Linked DNA regions of Homo sapiens: region 1 is linked to region 2. The links are contacts of gene promoters, found by promoter capture Hi-C in human tissues and cell types (Jung and others, 2019). All regions are on one chromosome and are shown on one strand. Each heading gives the region's core, a stretch centred on a gene start or on the middle of the fragment in contact. The rest is flanking DNA. Distances are from core to core; before and after follow the strand shown. Region 1 overlaps RNF220 (ring finger protein 220). Region 2 holds the start of ERI3 (ERI1 exoribonuclease family member 3).

Region 1 (5,108 bases), core at 203-2,702, 160 kb after region 2:
GGGACGGCCCCTAAGGGGGTTAGCTGAGAGGGAGTGGCTCCTCATGGTAATGATCCTAACTGACTCCACAGCCCCAGCGCCCTACACACTTTTACAAGGTTAAAGCAACAGCTTGAACCTGTATGGGGTGAGCATTTGTTTCCTTTCCAGATTGCCAGCTAATGAGGAAAGATTAAAGGAGCTAAATCTGTTTAGCTTGGCTAAGTGACGACGGAGGCGGCAGGAGTGGAGAGGCATGCTGGGCAGCCTGGCCAAGCGGAGGGGTGTGATAACCGTCTGCAGATTTCAGGAAGGTGTAACTACGGTGGAAGAAGAGCGGCTGTCTCAGGTGGCACAGGGGCCTCACCCTTCGGCAGCGAGTTTCCCAACAGTGAGCTCGGTGGCTCCTGGAGCAGCCAGTTGACCTGAGGAAGAGAGAGCAAGGATTAGGAACATCCCGGCTGAGCCAAGGGAGGGACCAAGCCAACCCACCCAATGGTCCAGGCACTGTCCCAACAGACCAGCTTTCATTTTGCCTTTTGCTAGCAGCATCCTCAGCATTCCCAAGGGTCTTCTCTGACTCTCTGCCCCCACTGCAGCCAATCCCTTAAGGGATTTGGAGTCCAGAAAGGTTCCCCCACTTTCTGGCCTGTGATAGACATTCGCAGTAGCTGGTTTGGCAATTCAGAACCTGCCTGTTCTTTGATGATATCTTCAGATAGATTATTCCAAGGCTATGAGATCAGAACCTGTGCGAGGAGCTCTTCTGGGAATGGAAATAACTTACCCAAAAGGGGAAGCAAGTGGCAAGGCCCAGGGTGTGGCGTCCCTGGGGTCCCGAGCCTGGCCCATGGGGGCCAGCCAGGCTGCCTCCCGCATGCTTGCTGTTGGCAATCTCATGGTTAAACACTTAAACAATCTTTCTTTCTCCTCTTTTCTCTCTCCTCCTCTCTCTCTTTCACTCTCTTCTTTTCAGAGTTGACAGGGGCCAAATAAAGGCCCTTTTAAAAAAAAACACACAAAACAATTTTGTTCCTTCTGAAAGTGATGGAGCGAAAGTGAGTGCAGATTATAGGCCTGTGAGGCGAGGGCCTTCCAGACGGGGGGAGAAGCGGTGACATGATGGGAACCTAATGGCAGTAATTGGCCCTGGCTTTGACAGGGCCCATATCACAGCTCAGGAAAAGAGAGATGTTTAAAGTAAAAATTTACACAAAATTATATGTTTTCGGGGTGAAAAAGACTGTTTGGATTTCATTTTTTTTCTTCCTCTTCTTCCCCCCAGGGCATGTTTCATGGGTCATCCTCTGCATGTGTGCGCGTGTGTCTGTGTGCGTGTGTGCACACATGCCCGTGCAGCTGTCTCCCCAGGTATATGGGCATCTTATGCCACATCGCCAATGTCTTCTACTTCCGCTCTTCCTGGAATAGAGGCGTTTGTTAGCTTTGGAAGTTTCCCTTCAGGAAGCAGAAAGAGCCTAAGAGAAGAAGGGAGAAAAGAACCATTCGAGTAATAGATCAGGCCACCCTTCATAGTATCACCACAGCAGACCTTGTTTGGATTCAATATATAGTCGTGTAGCATCTTGTATTTATCCTTGTATCGCTTAGTCCTAAATATAACCAAGTAATAGATCAAGTAGCTATATTTGTTTAGTGTCTAACTCCCACTCCAAACTGTGAGCTCTTTGAGTGCAGGACCCTGTTTCTCTTGTTAAGTGCCATAATCTCAGCACCTAGCACAGTGCCTCCCACGTAGCAGGCTTGCAGGATTTGTTAAATGAGCGGCCTAAAATAATGGAATTATGGAGGGACAGCTGCGATGTTGGAAGCCCGTGCCTTCCTGAGTAGAAAATGCTGATCAATCAGACTTTCGTCTAACTAGACAATACTAGAATATTCAGATAATTGATTCTTCATTGCCTGTTGGAAATGTAGCCTGAGAGGAAGACTTCAGGGGTTGCAGTGAAGCTAGAATATTAGGCATTCGTCCCTGGTTCAGAATGGTTTAGGCTTCCTCCATTGTGAGCTTCACTAGAAGCTCTACAGTCAAACCCCAACTGACTCTTTAATGCTGATGACCATGCTAGTGTTGAAACGATCTCCTCTTCCGGCCTGCAGAATGTCCTGCTGCTCCCTGTTTTACTTGGGATTTAGGTGTTCTCTATGGACTAAGCTAAGAACTAGCCAGCTATTGGGCTACTTTTTAGATTTTTTTAAAAAAGATATATCTTTTGGCTAACATGATAACAAGACCCATAAATGAAACAAAATTGAATGTTTTATTCACATGAGCTCAAGGGAAGTACCCGAGTCACAGAACCACAGATTGGGGAGTGGCTTTAGAGGTTCTGAAGTTCATGCTTTACTAGTTGTGTGCATAACCTCTACAGTAACCTCTCATGCTCCAGATGCAAAGATTGGCACGTCCAGCAGGGCAGGTAGAGTTTAAAGTCAAGAAGCAAAGGGGTAGGAGCTGGGCTGAACAAGGACCAGTCCTTGAAAATGGGTCAGTCATGGGGGAACAAACACAGAAAGGGAAGACCTAGCAAGACTGTTCCAGGGAGTGGCTATGAAGGCTGGAAATAAGTTCTGAAAGGCAAGTCCAGGAGGCTGGTGTTGAATGGAAATGTATAGCTATCAGCAGCAGGGACCAAGCCAACAGTCTATTCCCTTCCCATTTTGCCTCAATGTTTGAAGAAAATCTCAGCCCAGACAAACCAGGAGGTTTCAAGACCACTAGGGGAATCCAGAACACGGGGTGGATGTCACTGGGGACGGGAGAAGGGTAGCAGGGTATAGAATCAAATGGAAATGGGGCTCTTAGAGCTGTGGCAGTTGCTGAGATTAACTGAGGTCAACACAATTGAGTAGATGGTTCTTGAATAATGTAGGTGTAGTTTGTGTGGTGATTATTGTGTTAGGTACAGTAATAGCAGATAAAGTTGTAAATGATCCACAGGATTGGCATGCTCTAGGAATGAAGAAGTCATTGCTTGTGGTGAGAATACAGGTTCTTAAAGAAAAACTGAGGCATTTGGGGTTTCAGAACCATTTATTTGTCCCAACATTTATAGGATGCCTGCTCTATTCCAGGTATCATGCTGAGTCAAAGCTCTTCAGACCTACTATTTAATTTGAGTCACTTCCCTTTTATTTTCCCTTTGTGTGATGAACTGAGGGTGCCAGTATAGGGGAAAATGGCTAACATTCCATCCATGAAAATCACACAGTATGAGAAGGCTCTCTTGGCAATCTCAGAGTTCTCCGAGCTCTGTAGATGCTCCAAGAGTCTAGGAAACAGCAGCAGCTTACAGAAGTTTCCTCCTTTGACATTTAGCACAGAGATGGCAACCTTGTCCTTATCTGCTACCTCTGTGTAGGAATATTAAAATTGTAAATTACATACACTTTCCTAAAATACAGTCCTTTCACCCGGACCTGAAATAAATGACTTGGCTTCAGGTGCCTCTGGGTATCACTTGGCTTGCCCGTCAGTGCGGATCTGAAGATGAGACGCTAAAACCTTCAGATCTGCCTCCCTTGAATGTGATCTTAGCTGCTACACCATCTCCTTCTAAAAGGATAGCAAAGGAGATATGGGTGTTGTTTGCTTTTTCACTCATCTAAACTTTTTGCTTAAAATTATGGAATCTCAGAGCCTTGGAGATGATGCAACATATTTTTAAATAAACTGCCTCGTCTAAGTTAAGTGCTGGAAATACAAAGGTTTAAAAACAGTTCTCCTTTAAAGGAATTCATAGTCTACCAAGGAGACAGGCCAGCCAAAGAGGTAATGTCAAAACACTATGGTAAGTGCTAAGATAGATGTAAGATGCAGCACCTCCTAGAAGAAGCAAACACCTAAATCAACTAGAGACCTTAAGGAAGACTTCACAGAATTAGCAAAGCTTAAAATGAATCTTTAAGAAGTTTGCTACGCAGCCAAAGAGCAAAGGAAAGGTGTTCCCAGCAAAGGACATGGCATGATAGTTGGATGCATGAATTTTAAGTCAACTATTCCTGACCCCTTGTTCCTTAATATGTTTAGCAGCTTCTAAGAAATTTGCTGTCCTCATTTTTGTGATAGCTGTGTGCAGTGTATAAGGATAGTGAGAAAAAGAAAGGGATCGAAGAACCACCAAGAGAAAGGAAGATGGGAGGAAAGTGAAGGGAAAGAGGAAGAGAAGGGAAAGGAAACCAATATTTATGGAGTGTCTATTATATGCCATGTGGTTTTACATGATCTCATTTCATATTATTTCCATTCCATACATTAAGTCAATGTGTTTCAGAGAGATGAATGATTTCTTCACCTAACTTCACCTTTTTGTCCTCTCCTGTCCCCATTCTCATGCTAACCCTACCTCAGACCTCTCTTTGAAGCTCCACACTGCCTATTTACCACCACCACATGGATCTCTAACAGACACTCTGCCCTCACCAGTCCAGAATGCTGCTCATCATTTTTCCCACCAAAACTGTTCCCTCTCCCCTTTTCCCATGGCACCTCCCCATCCACTTGTCCAAGCCAGAAACCTGGGAATCACTCTTCAGCCTTTCCCTGTTCCTCAGCCCCTCAGTCTACCTCTAAATCCTATCTCAAATGCATTCCCTTCTCCCCAGCTTGCCTGGCACCGCCCAAAATCCAGGCATCAGCATCTGTCCTCTGTCACTGCTGGAACTGTCTTCTATTTGATTTCTCCCTTCCATCCTTGCCACTTCCCATTCTAGCCTCTCCACCTGGCAGCTAAGGAATCTTTTTAAGAGATATGACCCCTAGAGTCAAGCCCATAATCCTTAACGCGGCAAGACCTGCCCCCTGTCTTCCCGGACCCCCATCTCTCCTCGGGGTCTTTCATCCTGCCCAGTTCCCTCTCTCCAGCCTCCTTACATGACTGCTTCCCCTCATCCTTCAGATCTTAGCTTCAATGCCATTTCCTCAGAGAACTCGTCCCAGTCTATAAAAGATTTCACCTGTTTTTTTCTTTCTTTCTTTTTTCTTTTAACCTGGCCTTTGACTGTTGTCATCACCGACTTTTCTATTTCTTATCTATTGTCTTCAAGTGTGTTTGACAAATGTAGTTAGACATTTATTTGCCTGTTTAGTTGTTTCATGTCTGTCTTGT
Region 2 (4,984 bases), core at 546-3,045:
CATATCCTCCAAAGGACCAGAAGTTGCAGAGATGCCCCTGTTAGTGATGTCTTTTGCATAAAGAAACACCTAGGGTTGGAACTAATATATTCCTGTCTACCATTCCACACATTTAAGACTTTCTTCTACTCAGATCCCCTGGGAAAAGGCCACTCACCAATTTACCCCACCACAAAGAAAACACTTTTTAAAATGAAAGGGAATAAAAGCACTTTTATTTGGAAATTTCAAGTTGGAAGAAAAGCTCTTAGCCAAGCTCTATGACCTAGCTAGCTGATTATTTACAGGATCTTTGGGCAGGAATTGTTAATGAGCTTTTAATTTGGAGTGCTTAAGTTGCCAAAGTGCTCTGAGCTCCAGTGAAGCACCACAGAATCTATAAAGGAAACCTTATCAATCACTTCCCGGCAGCTCCCTTCCCCCAACCCCCACCTCCTGAGGAAAAGGCAGCCAAGTGGGTTTCTAACCAGGATCACAGACACACATTAGTGGAGTCACACTCCAAGTCCCTGTTTATAAATTGGCTTTTAAATGGTAGGAGATTCAGGTATAATAAACTAAGCTCCAAGCAAGAACCCACTAAAACAAGGCATGCTGTATATGATAAAGTCAGAATAAAGCAGAATTTGATGAAGCCAATTTCTGGAAGAAACTCTACAATCAAAACTCATTTAGCCACTCACAACCTACTATAGTTTGAATAGCGTACACTCTTTTAGCCAATAGGATTCATGTTTTGCTGCCCTTCCGCTGGGAGACTGATTAAATGTCTGACAAGAGTAAATGCCATTGAAGTGGCCAGAGACCTCTCGCAGACACAACGATGGGCACTATTTGTTGCAAAATCCAGCTCTAAGGACAAAATCCAAACCCCCATTGAGGGGCCCCACATCCAGCATCTTCCAAGTCAACAAGGAGCAGTTATATTTTGCAAGAACTCGCAGTCAAGCCTCAATCCAAGTTCATGCTTTTTTTAAGAAAACACCTGTTGCTGGACCATTTGCAAGACAGGCAAACAGAAAGCTAGCCAGGTTAGGCCCTTATTCACTCCTTCCACCATCACTACTACCACCGCTTCAGATTTACAAAGAGGTAAACTGCTAACCTGGTGTGTGGGCATGTGTTGGCGAGAGGGTCAAGGGAATGTTCTACCCACAATCTCCATGCTCCATTTCTAGCCTCTCTAGTCAAACCTTTTTCTTCTCTAGTAATCCCAGTAAGTCAACCCCCTTAATAAACTCACCCATCCTGTCTTGCAAAGCTCTGCCCCGCTCCCCCTCCGCCAGAACATTACTCAGTAGATTAAGTAAGCATCCAGGGTAAGCACATGGGCCAGCACCCCAGGTTGCATAAATTCTGCGCACCGCGACCCTCACCCCGCATGCATTAACCAGGGCCCAATCTTGGCGGGGCCATTCAGCATCACCCACCCCGGGGTGTTGCCCCCAACTCGGGCCCATCCAAGTCCAGGGGAGAGTAAGGGGAGGGGCGGGGGGCCAGGAGACCAGCCCTCCTTCCCAGGGCCGCCCCCGCCCCCCGTCAGCAGCGGGAGAGGCTGTCGCCATGGCAACGCCCCCTCCTCGGGGCCAGCGCGGCAGGCTCCCTCCAGGTGCAGGCCCCGACGTCTCCCTCGGCCTCAGCAAGCGCTCAGGGCAGTTGGCGGCGGCGGGCGCGGCCCGCGCCGACTGCGGCGCCGGCCAGGCAGAGGCAGGGCCAGCTCCGCCCGCTCCCCACCGCCCGTTCCCGGCCGCCTGAACAGCGGCAGCCAGCACCACGAGTCCACAACACACCGACTCACCTCCGCGCACTCTGACCCCGACCGACGCGGCGGACGGGCGGGCGCTGTGGCCAACCGCTGAGCCCGCTGCCGACCCCTTTGACCAATGGGCTGCAGTCAGGCGGGGCTTCTTCTCCCCAAACGCTCGCTCTCCCGCCGACATGCGCGCTAAGGTATGTCAAGATGGTGACTCCCGGCCGCCGGCCTTATGGGACTTGTAGTTTTGACGTTGCACAAACTCAGAAGAGAAGACGGGGACGGGGACATCACTTCTGATCTGTGAAAGGAATTTTTTTAAAATGAAACTTTCTATGGCCTACAGCGATCTAACCAGGATCACAGACACACATTAGTGGAGCCCCCCATCTCCGTTTTCCCGCCCTCCAATATACCCGTAAGGTGAATGTGGGCTCACAACGTGACAGAATTCTATTTACATGACTCCTCATGATTCGTTCATTCAACAAGTAATTATTGTCATCTACTTTCGGATGTGGGCCTGGGGGAGACCTGAGACAAGGAGGGATTAAGCTAAGAGGAAAATGCTTAGATTTGTGAAGGGCCGTCCTAAGGAAGAGGGAACTGGCTTGTTCAGGTCCACTCAGAGGAAACTTCTGTTTAAAAGGTTTCTGGCCTCAGCTGTGAGGAGCTTCCCCAGTCAGTCTCTCCAGTAAGCTGGAGAGACCTGTGTTTCTTCATCCTGGTTATGCCTTTCTGGGTAGTCATGGGTCCCAGGTTATGAGCTGGGAATGATGGCTTTGACAGCTTCCCAATCGGTCAGGACCCCATCCTCTGGGCCCAGCTTCAGTTACCAAGCCCCTCTGTGTGCTGTCTGCATACTTACACTTAGGATGATGTCATTTCTGGGCCCTACCACCTCTGAGAGCGGACCTTACCATAACGGTTTCCACCTGAGCTGAGAGTGCCTGGTAATCCCCATATCAGGGAATGCCTTCCTTAATCCCACCCACGTCATAGGTTAGGTGATTCTGCTGTGGACCTATAGCATTTATCATATTGTCTTATAATTGTCTGTTTCCTTGTTGTCGCTCCCACAGGGTTTTAAGTCCTTTAGGAAAAGCATTTTTTCCATATTGTTCATGTTGTATCAGTAATACACCGCATAGGGCAGGTATAAAGAAGGCCCGCAATAAATGTCTGCGAACAAATGAGGGAATATCCAGCAGCAGGGACAGACTTATCCCGAGGTCAGTAAAGTGGAGGCACTATCCCCCAACTCTTGGAGCTGGAACAGATTCTCCTATTATTACCTACACATTAACCCCAGTTGGTCAGTCAGTCCATCTGTATTTATAGTGCCTCTCTTAAGTGTCAGGCACTGTTTCTGTTGCTGAGGATTCATTGATGAATAACGACACACCTCTATTCTCAAGGAGCTTTTAAATTGGAGAGGGAAGCTGGGTGTCGTGGCTCACGTCTGTAATTCTAACACTTTGGGAGTCTGAGGCAGGAGGATCCTTTGAGACCAGGAGTTCAAGACCAGCTTGGGCAACATAATGAGATTCTCATCTCTACAAACAAGTTAAAAATTAGGCAGGCATGGTGGCACGTGCTTGTAGTCCCAGGTACTCAGGAGGCTGAGGTGGGAGGATCACTGGAGCCTGGGAGGACAAAGCTGCAGTGAGCCATAATAAATAAATTGGGGAGGGGCTGTAGGAGGAAGAATAGATAATAAAACAAGTAAATATAAAAATAAGACAAGAGGCAGTGAGATAGCTTTGTTATATACTGAGTTATGGCCTGAGAGTAGGGCACAGCCAATCTTCTTGGCTGTAAGAATGAAGTAAATCTATAGTATCTGGATTCAAGGCTTTATGTAATGCCCAGCCCCAACATCCTCTGTGGAGCCTTCCATGGTCCCCTTGACTTCCCCAGAATGTGTTCTTTCCTCCTTGGTGCACTAGGGCTCAACTGTACAGCTTCCAGGACTTCACCACACTGTAAGTTCTTTTTGTACAAAGACCAGGCAAATTGATTCAAATAATAGAACAGTTTAACAGCTCAGTATACACTTGGTATCTTACACTGCCGCCTAACACAGCACTTGGCTTTCTCAAGCCATGGCTCTGTTGTGTGCTATCTGGTTCCCTAGAAAACAGAGCCTGGGCCGGGCACAGTGGCTCATGCCTGTAATCCCAACACTTTGGCAGGCCAAGGTGGAAGGATTGCTTGAGCCCGGGGGTTCATGACCAGACTGGTCAACATAGCAAGATTCCATCTCTATAAAAGAAAAAAAAGGAAACGGAGCCTGAGGCAAAACTTATGTGCTCAAATTTAATTGGGGAGTTCAATCCCAAGGCATCAAGAGTGAGGGGAGCCGGGTATGGTGACGCATGTAGTAGTCGCAGCTACTCAGGAGGCAGAAGACTGAGGCAGGAGGATCGCTTGAAGTCAGGAGTTCAAGGCTAGCCTGGGCAACATGGCAAGACTCCGTGACTTAAATAAACAAATAAATAAAAGAGTGGGGGAAGGGGGGAAGTGAAGCAGGGAAGGAGGGAAAGAACGTACAAGATAGTGTCTTACTGAGAAGTTGGCCAGTGCCTCAAAGAAAATACAACTAGTTGCTCTGTCGTACAAGGTGTGTAGAACCATCCTGTGTGACAGGGAGAAGGAAGGGTTATGTTACCCCACCACTGCCGTAGCCACAGGGGGTGCCAGATTCCACACCTGGAAGCACAGTCATTCATTTGAGACTAGAAATGGTGAGAGGAATCAAAGCCTCTGGTTGGGTCAGATTAGGTCCACTGCAGTCCCGCCACAGTGGGCACATTGGAGGCTGTGTCAAAACCTAGCCATCATCCCAAGGGAAACAAAGACAACCAGAGGTGTTAGTAAATGAGGTGGGAGTGGCAGTTGAGCTGTGCAATAAATAAGTGGCCAATGGCCAGAGTCGGGGATGCAGATGAGGCAAGGGCAAGTGAATTTGGGGAGGCAGATGAACTGAGTTCAATACACAGACACACAGACACCCTAGCTGCTGGATTGAGCGACTGAGCTAAAGTGAACACTGAGAGCAAGAACAAAAGAGAGGACCAAGTTAAGCCTTTTTTTTTTTTTTTCTTTTTGAGATGGAGTTTCACTCTTGTTGCCCAGGCTGGAGTGCAATGGCGCAATTTCAACTCACCGCAACCTCCGCCTCCTGGGTTCAAGCAATTCTCCTGCTTCAGCCTCCCGAGTAGCTGGGAT

What was found. The method cuts DNA at HindIII sites, captures the fragments that hold promoters and counts their contacts. A contact is called where the count stands out against the background at its distance.
Region 1: a contact is called between a fragment that was not itself captured here and the fragment with the promoter of ERI3 in region 2, in 1 of the 25 tissues and cell types used here (thymus).

The regions. Positions count from the first base shown.
Region 1 is chr1:44,512,494-44,517,601 of GRCh38, forward strand. The region is part of intron 2 of RNF220 (ring finger protein 220); the gene reads left to right. Among named protein-coding and RNA genes, the nearest start is that of MIR5584, 30 kb to the right of the region's middle. The HindIII fragment of the contact is 7,769 bases long and covers 1-5,108 here.
Region 2 is chr1:44,353,462-44,358,445 of GRCh38, forward strand. It overlaps ERI3 (ERI1 exoribonuclease family member 3), which reads right to left and starts at 1,796. Exons shown (of 9, transcript NM_024066.3): 1 at 1,431-1,796. The coding sequence starts at 1,565. RefSeq lists a silencer at 1,531-1,760 and enhancers at 1,630-2,130, 2,031-2,080. The HindIII fragment of the contact is 16,235 bases long and covers 1-4,984 here.